Linked DNA regions of Homo sapiens: region 2 is linked to region 1. The links are contacts of gene promoters, found by promoter capture Hi-C in human tissues and cell types (Jung and others, 2019). All regions are on one chromosome and are shown on one strand. Each heading gives the region's core, a stretch centred on a gene start or on the middle of the fragment in contact. The rest is flanking DNA. Distances are from core to core; before and after follow the strand shown. Region 1 overlaps SEC22C (SEC22 homolog C, vesicle trafficking protein). Region 2 holds the start of CCK (cholecystokinin).

Evidence for each region. The method cuts DNA at HindIII sites, captures the fragments that hold promoters and counts their contacts. A contact is called where the count stands out against the background at its distance.
Region 2: the fragment with the promoter of CCK here is called in contact with a fragment that was not itself captured in region 1 in 1 of the 25 tissues and cell types used here (thymus).

Annotation. Positions count from the first base shown.
Region 1 is chr3:42,550,953-42,555,344 of GRCh38, reverse strand. It overlaps SEC22C (SEC22 homolog C, vesicle trafficking protein), which reads left to right. Exons shown (of 7, transcript NM_032970.4): 7 at 1,897-4,392. The coding sequence ends at 2,097. Among named protein-coding and RNA genes, the nearest start is that of VIPR1-AS1, 21 kb to the right of the region's middle. The HindIII fragment of the contact is 7,415 bases long and covers 1-4,392 here.
Region 2 is chr3:42,263,588-42,267,979 of GRCh38, reverse strand. CCK (cholecystokinin) reads left to right here and starts at 1,795. Exons shown (of 5, transcript NM_000729.6): 1 at 1,795-2,296; 2 at 2,543-2,711; 3 at 3,073-3,283; 4 at 4,348-4,392. The coding sequence starts at 4,350. The HindIII fragment of the contact is 4,994 bases long and covers 1-3,444 here.

The DNA of each region.
Region 1 (4,392 bases), core at 739-3,238:
GACGGAGTCTTGCACTGTTGCCCAGGCTGGAGTGCAGTGGCACAATCTTGGCTCACTGCAAGCTCTGCCTCCCGGGTTCACGCCATTCTCCTGCCTCAGCCTCCTAAGTAGCTGGGACTGTAGGTGCCCACCACCACACCTGGCTAATTTTTTTTGTACTTTTAGTAGAGACGGGGTTTCACCATGTTAGCCAGGATGGTCTCGATCTCCTGACCTTGTGATCCACCCGCCTCGGCCGCCCAAAGTGCTGGGATTACAGGCATGAGCCACCACGCCCGACCTCTGCAAAAAATTTTTTAAAAAATATATACATATATAAGACTAGGTCAAAGAACTGCTGATTTTTTTGTTGTTGTTGTTGTTGTTGTTTTAAATAGTAATACCTTCTGACTCAGACCTGTTCTTTAGGAACTGAAGCAAACATTAGAACATTAACTAGAGGGTTTTGATTAGTTATTTTCATATAAGCTGTGTACTAAGGGGTGGCATAAAGAGGCGATTTTGAGTCCCTCATAGGCAGAGTTAATTCTAGTGAAAGCGTGGCTCTAATTCTCCTTCCTTGTCCTCCGTATGGACTAGGATTTTAGCACTGTCTCTGAATACATATTTTTTCTCCCTTTTTTTAAAATTAAAATTTCTGTTCTTAGGACGCTTTCCTTCTCTTCCACATACATCCTAGAATGGTTTATTCTTAAGAATTACCCAGGCCAGGTGTGGTGACTCATGCCTGTAATCCTAGCACTTTGGGAGGCCAAGATGTGTGGATCACTTGAGGCCAGGAGTTCAAGACCAGCCTAGGGAACCCCATCTCTATTATAATAAAAATACAAAAATCAGCTGATTATGGTGGTGCATACCTGTAGTCCCAGCTACTTGGGAGGCTTAGGCATGAGAATTGCTTGAACCCTGGAGGTGGAGGTTGCGGTGAGCTGAGATCACGCCACTGTGTTCCAGCCTGGGCAACAGAGAAAGACATTGCCTAAAAAAAATGAAAAAGCATTACCTGATTATGCAAAAAGAAATTTTCAACCCATGAAAATGCATTCATTTTTTAGAAAACAAGTCTCCAAGACCTTGGACATAGCCAGTGGCAGTTTCCTAGAGCTATGTTTTAGGACTGCAGGGATTGTACAGTTCCACCTCATTCCTTCAACTGTGTTCCTGGTTGGATAGCTCACTCCCTCCCTCTGTAGATTGAACCTTTGTCAGATTGATCCATGTTCAGTGATGTCCTTTTTTTAAAAAAAAAAAACAAAGCATTGAACCAAAATGCCGTTTCCACCTTTTGCAGAACAAGAATGGCCCCTTTTATGTGTGATAGTCATACACAAAATACCAGTCACTCTCCCTGCTGTGAGACCTTTCCCTGACTCAGAGATGCTTTGGAAGACATGATAAGGAGGGTGCCCAAGGGAAGAGTGGTGCTCAATGTAGTCGTGGCTCAGGAGAAACCAAAATAGTAAAAGCATGGCTTTCTCTCACCAGCTTGCTTGCCTGTCCTGGCTCCCTGAAGAAAAACTTCACTGGGGGGCCAGTCAGTCACGTTAGGGTCCCCTGTCTGCAGCCTGGCTGTCTGCAGCTTATGTGCAGCTCTTCTTTCTCTACTGCCAACAGCCTGGTCATTTCTGTCTATTTCTTTAACTTCTTTCAGATGTGCCATGCACTGATTCTTCCTGTGACATCTATTTCACTTTCCTTTAATCTTCCAAATCCTCACTTTCGTCCAATAATTAGCAGCCTAACCAGTGGGTCCACGCTTTACTGTAATGAATTCAGTTTAATCAGCTAATGTGAGAGAAATGACACTCTTCATGGAAGCTGTGGGAGGTGAATTTTGCATATGATCTAGTGGCCATTTTATCTCTGATTGGAATTCCTCTTCTGGTCTCATTTCAGTGTTATTTGTACCTGTTCTACAGTCCAGCCAGGACTATGAAGGTGGTGCTTATGCTGCTCTTTATTTGCCTGGGCAACATGTACCTGCACGGGCTGAGGAACCTCTGGCAAATCCTTTTCCACATAGGAGTGGCTTTTCTGTCTTCATATCAGATACTAACAAGGCAGCTTCAGGAGAAGCAGTCTGACTGTGGAGTATGAGGATGACACTGTGATGAATGGATTCTTTGATTTTCTTTTGAGGATCAATCTATGTTTCTCTTTCTGCTTCTCTACTTTACACTCCAGTTTCCATCCTTTTCAGCCAACTGGACTGAAAAACCAGGAATTGGGGATGTTAAACAGTTGCAGTGGAAGTCATGAGGTTGCTTGATACCCAGCCTTGGTTCTGTGCCAAGCATTACTGCAGGATCTCCAGCCAGTTCAGCACGTTTACCTAGGACAGCTGGATCTGGGGGCTCATCCAGAAAGAGCTTTATTGGAAGAGAGAAAGGAAATATTTTGGTCTTTTAAGTTGAATGATACAGTAAACCACTTGATTCAATAACACTGGTTTTAGTCATTGAGAGTTGTCTCCAAGGAACCACTTTAAAATCCAAATCAGCTTTCAGTCTAAACATAACTTGATTAGTTTTTTTTTTCAGAGGGTCAGTACAGGATGAATTAAAAACCTAAAAATATGGTTCATAAATGTAAGCTAGATAAATTTTGTTTACATTTTTTCAATATCTTAGGTTCGATATACCTTTGGAATATTTAATTATATTTTGGATATAAATTGGACTTCATTTAGGGTGAGGGCAAACTTAAGCTGAGAAAATGGTTAAGAAATCTGAGTTTATTTAATTTATATGTAACCTTTTATAGTGGTGGGACTGTTTGGGTACAGAGATGTTTTATATTTATTTGCAGGGTATATCCGAATATTTTAAAAATTAATTGAATAACCAGTACTTCTAGATGATAAGTTTGTCAGCATGAGCAGAAATGAGAATTTCAGGATTACTTACAATTGACCACAACCTGGAGTAGGTGAATGAACATGGATTCAGTGGCACTTTACAGATCCGCTTGGGAGGGGCTGCTGTCATCAGCCTTTTCAGTAGAGCTGAGTGCCTGTTGTTTTAATGATGATGACTACTGTACCCTGTGTACCTGTTCCCAGAGCGCCTCCAAAATTAATTACTCCTCTGCACCTTTCCCAGTCATCTTAATTAGCTTGAGGGCCTCATTTTTTATGAACAAGAGTTAAGTATCTGTTAACTTTTTAAAGCTTGATAGAGATATAATTAACACATACTCTGGAAAGTTACTCTCTTTCACTGTCAAAAAATTGATTGATCACAGTTTTCCAAAATATGGTTCTGGATAAGATCCCTTAGGTTTCCCGAAATTTCAGCCTGGCTTGTTTTGTACCACGCAGGAGGTCATTTTGGGAGTTTGCTCTTTGGATTGTTCTTGGTAGAAGTCTGGAATCTGAATAGTTCAACCACAGTTGCATGGAACACTTTGAGTGTTCAACTGCATTATGTGGTCTTGATAAATTTTTAAAAATCCTATTTTGATAGTTTTTAAAAGTGGAAAACCATTACAAGAGTTGAGTGGATAGGGAATGTAAGAATGTAGTTTTAGAAAAATTCAATTATATTTGGTTATCACTGGTATTGTATTGTTATTGAGCTACCTTGTTATCATTTTAAGAAAAATAAGTTTATATACTGGGAACTATGTTGGGAAAATGTTGCCATAGTAACTTTATTTTTTATAATAGAATTTTCTATTTTTGACCAAACATAAAATATTTGGATATGGGCCAGGCATGATGGCTCATGCCTGTATTCCCAGCACTTTGGAAGGCCAAAGCAGGAGACTCGGTTGAGGCCAGTAGTTTGAGACCAGCCTGGACAACATAGTAAGATTCATCTCTACAAAAAAAAAAATTAGCCGGATGTGATGGCACATGCCTGTAATCCCAGCACTTTGGGAGTCTGAGGCAGGAGGATCCCTTGAGTCCAGGAGTTTGAGGCTTCCATGAGCTATAATCACACCACTGCACCCCAGCCTGCATGACAGAGTGAAACCCTGTCTCTAAAAAGTCTGAATATGAAAATTATATTGGCAGCATACTCAGACATAAACTCCAAAGTTGTCTCTACACTGATTTCACATCTGCATAATTTTCTGCATACCCAGCAGGTGAATTTTCAGTTTTTCTGGGAGACAATTTTGAAGAGATGGTGAAATAGAATGGGAAGTTAAGGAGGGGAGGTAAAATGTTTTAAATGAGAAGAACAAAAAAGCTTTAAAAGTCAATAACACTTTGGGAAGCTGAGGTGGGCAGATCACGAGGTCAAGAGATCGAGACCATCCTGGCTAACATGGTGAAACCCCATCTCTACTAAAAATACAAAAATTAGCTGGGCACGGTGGCTTGTGCCTGTAGCCCCAGCTACTCAGGAGGCTGAGGCAGGAGAATCTCTTGAACCCGGGAGGTGG
Region 2 (4,392 bases), core at 546-3,045, 290 kb after region 1:
GACTGTCAATGCACAAACGATCAACCAATCCCATACTGGACTCATTACCCGCTCCCCACTGGCCCACTACCACCACGGCCACACTCCAAGCCTGCTTTTCCTTCTGAATTCCCTGTCTTGGATAATACTCTACCACCCACCCTTGTCTCCCAGCCTGGAAACTCAAGGTCAGTCTCAGTCACCAAGTCCGGTTCCCTCTACCAGTTTCCTGAGCAGCAACAGGTTGTTCCCTGGGAGGCTGGAATTTTTCTTCTTTTCTCTACTTTTGTTTTCTGAATGTTCTCTGATGAACACTTATGACTTGCATAATGTTTATTATGTTTCCTAATAATTAATGGGTTTCATAATGGCTTATTATTCTAAAACAAATCTACCTTGATTGTTCCTGCTTGCCCATCCCCGAGGGCCTCCTATCCAGCCCTCCCCTTCCAGTCCCTCTGCCTTTTGGGCATCTTCCATATTACCACCTAGCTCCCCTCACCAAAACATTTCTCCAAGATTACCTCCTACCATCTCCACTCCATAGTCCCCAAATATCAGAATTGTTGAGAAGTGTTTGTCCACTTGTTTGCTTCAGCTCCCCTATTGTATTGTCAGCTCTTGTTCATACTGAATCCCTGGGGCCTGGCACAAAGTAAGTGTTGAATAAACATGAATTAAATGGATCAAGGCCAGGAGTTGAGTAACTGGTATAAGGTAGGGAATTTCTATAGAAATGATCTCAAAGTGTGCTTGGCGGACTAGCATTTTCAGTATGGCCTGGGAACTTGTTAGAAATGTAGATTCTTGGTGGGGCGTGGTGGCTCACGCCTGTAGTCCCAGCATTTTGGGAGGCCAAGGTGGGTAGATCACCTGAGGTCAGAAGTTCGAGACCAACCTAGCCAACATGGTGAACCCTTGTCTCTACTAAAAATATAAAAATTAGCCAGGCATGGCTGCACATGCCTGTAATCCCAGCCGCTGGGGAGGCTGAGGCAGGAGAATCGTTTGAACCTGGGAGGCAGAGGTTGCAGTGAGCCGAGATCATGCCACTGTACTCCAGCCTGGGCGACAGAGTGAGACTCTGTCTCAAAGAAGGAAAGGCAAGGAAAGGAAGGAAGGAAGGAAGGAAGGAAGGAAGGAAGGAAGGAAGGAAGGAAGGAAATGAAGAAAGAAAGAAAGAAATAAAGAAGAAAGAAAGAAAGAGAGAGAGAAAGAGGGAAAGAGGGAGAAGGAGAGACGGAGGGAGGGAGGGGGGAAGGAAGGAAGGAAGGAGGGAGGGAAGGAAGGAAGGAAGGAAGGAAGGAAGGAAGGAAGGAAGGGAGAGAGGGAAAGAGGGAAGGGGAGAGAGGGAGGGAAGGAGGGAGGAAGGGAGGGAGGGAGGGAGGAAGGAAGGGAGGGAGGGAGGGAAGGAGGGAAGGAGGAAGAAAGGAAGGAAGGAAGGAAGGAAGGAAGGAAGGAAGGAAGGAAGGAATTCGGATTCTTGGGCCCTTCCTCAGACCTACTGAATTAGAAGCTCTGGGGGTATTTCGATAACAAGTTTATGTTTCCAGACATGTCTTGCCACAATCACAAATAAGACTCTTTTTCGCAACTGAACTACACAAACCTTAGCAGGCTCGTGGCGAAACCACTGGAAAGCATTTAATCAGCTTCAGCTCTTTCAAACATGTTGCCCATAGGTTGCAGAAACGCAGCTGCCTCTCAGGATTAGAAAGTGGAGCAGCAACCGGAGGCGTCTCTGGGCCGCCCCCCCAACCCCCCCACCCCGCCTCGCCCACTCCACCCTCACACTGGCGTTGCCACAGTCCCTCCATTCCAGAGGGAATTCCAGAGCGGAATACGGATTCCGATTTTAAAATAAGCGCTTCTAAATCTTTCTCCTTGCATCTAAGACGGGTGGGGGAAAGAAAGGGAGAGGAGTTGAGGTCCCAAGGTTCAAGGCCTGGTGATCTCCAGGTCCCAGGCTGGGCGGCCTCGGTGCACGGAGAGGGCGAGGGGCGTGTTGTGGAGCCTTGGCAAGGCGCTGCTCTTCCTCGCGCCTCGGTTTGCGGTCTGTGAAATGGGGTTGGCAGTGCCTTTGCAGGGACGCGGCGAACTCAAGCACCAGCAAGCGGACTCGAACTCAAAGGGTTTCAGGGTGTAGACGACCAGAGCGCACTGAGGGGCTCCAGGTCGGCCCGCTCCGGAGCCGGGAGAGTAACCGCGTGCAGGGAAAGGCGCACGGCAGCCTCGGTGCCTCCCTTCCCTCCACCGGACGGGTGACTGACTAGGGGTGAGGTCCTCACCTCCAGGCTGCGCAGCTGAGTTCTGGAAGGTACTGTCCTGGGGGTGTGAGTGTGTGGGCCCTCAGGAAAGGTGCGAGGGGCGGATGCCGTGGTCTACCCGAGCTTGCGGGGGTGCGGTGGTCAAGTTCCCCAGGACCCTCGCTGGCGCCGCTTGTCGACAACGGGGAACAGTGGGCGCCGCGGGTGGTGGTAACTTGGCCCGGGAAGAAAACACATCCCTTTCCCAAACCGGATTCCTCTGAGCAAAACCAGATGGTGTCATCCGCATTTTACAGCTGCGTCAAGAGAGGCCCAGGACACCAAGAGCCAGCTGTGGCCAGAGCCCTTTCACTGACCCAGAACACTGGCCCTCGGAAACCTGGAGAACTGCGAGGGCTTTTAATGCGGCTGAGAAGAAAGTGAAGACCCCGACTCCTCCTCTCTCCTTCGAAAGAGCCGACACAGGTATGAAGACCAGCGCCTCGGACGCTCCGGGGTAGGGGGCCGACGCCCCCTCCCTTTCAGAATCACGCCTTGCTGATGCTCAGTCCTGCCCAGTGTCCACCCCCCACCCCCGCCCCCAGTTTCCTTTCTAGCCCCTCCGGTCCCCAAAGCGAACTAAGCTAGCGGCAGCTTCTCCATCCCGGAGGAGACTCCAAACTCCTAGGTTTCCCACCTTGGAGAGTACTGCTCTGGAATGCGCAGGGGAGCGGCACCTGGAAAGGGTTGGGCGGAAGCTTCTCGGACCCAGAGGGGGCGGACACCCGGCACCGCGCGTGGGAGGGATTAACTCCACCCCACTAGACCACCTCCCCCTCTCTCCCAGGAGCCACTTCAACCGGTTGTCGCCCCAGTGGCCGCCCTCTGAGCACGTGTTACTGCCAGTCTGCGTCAGCGTTGGGTAAATACATGACTGGCCGACGCCGCCGGGTGGGGCTATTTAAGAGACAGCCGCCCGCTGGTCCTCCCTGAACTTGGCTCAGCTGCCGGGCTGCTCCGGTTGGAAACGCCAAGCCAGCTGCGTCCTAATCCAAAAGGTAGGTCCCTCGGTTCGTCAGCGGGGGATCCAAGTGTCGTGTGTCTTTGAAGGATGCTGTCTTCAGCTTTGTGCCCATTTCCATTATGCTTTTCTATTTTCTGTGTCTTCCCTCCGAGAGCTCGAAAGACATTTCTTGAAGTCAGAAATAACGGCTCTGGGTCTAAAAGTGAGGTCTGGGTGGGTAGAGCTGCTTTAGAGCCTTTCATACGCCAGCATCATTAAGGGATGAACTACCCATTCGCTAAGATTCGCATGCAGATTGAGTTTGCTAGCTGTTACACAGCGGTGCGGGGGACTTTGCAATCTTTTCTAATAAAATATTAGAGGGTTTTAAGATTTAAATTCATTTTCTAAATACTGCAGAAAATTTCGAGGCTTTACGGATAGAAACTTGAGGGTGTTTTATCCACTAGCGATCTAAAATGCACGGGGCTTTCGAAGCCTGAGCGCTGGGCACATATTTCTGATTTTAAAACCTGCCTATGTTCTGCGTAGTGGCTTATTGCCATTTCCCACGTACACTTTGAGAAAAACTTTATAAATACGGCTTTATTTATTGCTCCTACATTTTAAACTGTGCTTCTCTTTTTCATCATTTACTGTATTTCCATATTGAAAGCTTGTTAGCTATCTGGAAAAGTGCTTTCCCCAGGGTTCTCATTTCTCCCACGGAGTCTTCCCTTTAGGATATTTTTTTCACACTATTTTTAATCTCGTGGGGTTTTATTTTTCTTCTTTCGGTTAGAAGAGAGGCACTCTGCAAACACTTCCTCAAACTTTAGGAAAGCAAAAACATTCCTTCTGCTCAACACGGCAGAAAACAGGGTCTCTGCCCCTTGGCGCTGGGTGAGGAGTTCCCAAAGACCAGCCAGGTGCGCCCGGGGGCGCGCGCCATGGCACTCGGCTGGGGTCAGCGCTTGGCGAGCCCTCGTGCTTGCGGCGGCCTGGCGGGTCTGGAGCACCTGTGTTTGTCCTAAGCCCGCTTCTGGGTGCCCGGCCCGCCGCAGGAGCTCTGTTGCCCAGCCTTTCAGTTAACGCGCCCTCCTCCTTTGCTCGCTACAGCCATGAACAGCGGCGTGTGCCTGTGCGTGCTGATGGCGGTACTGG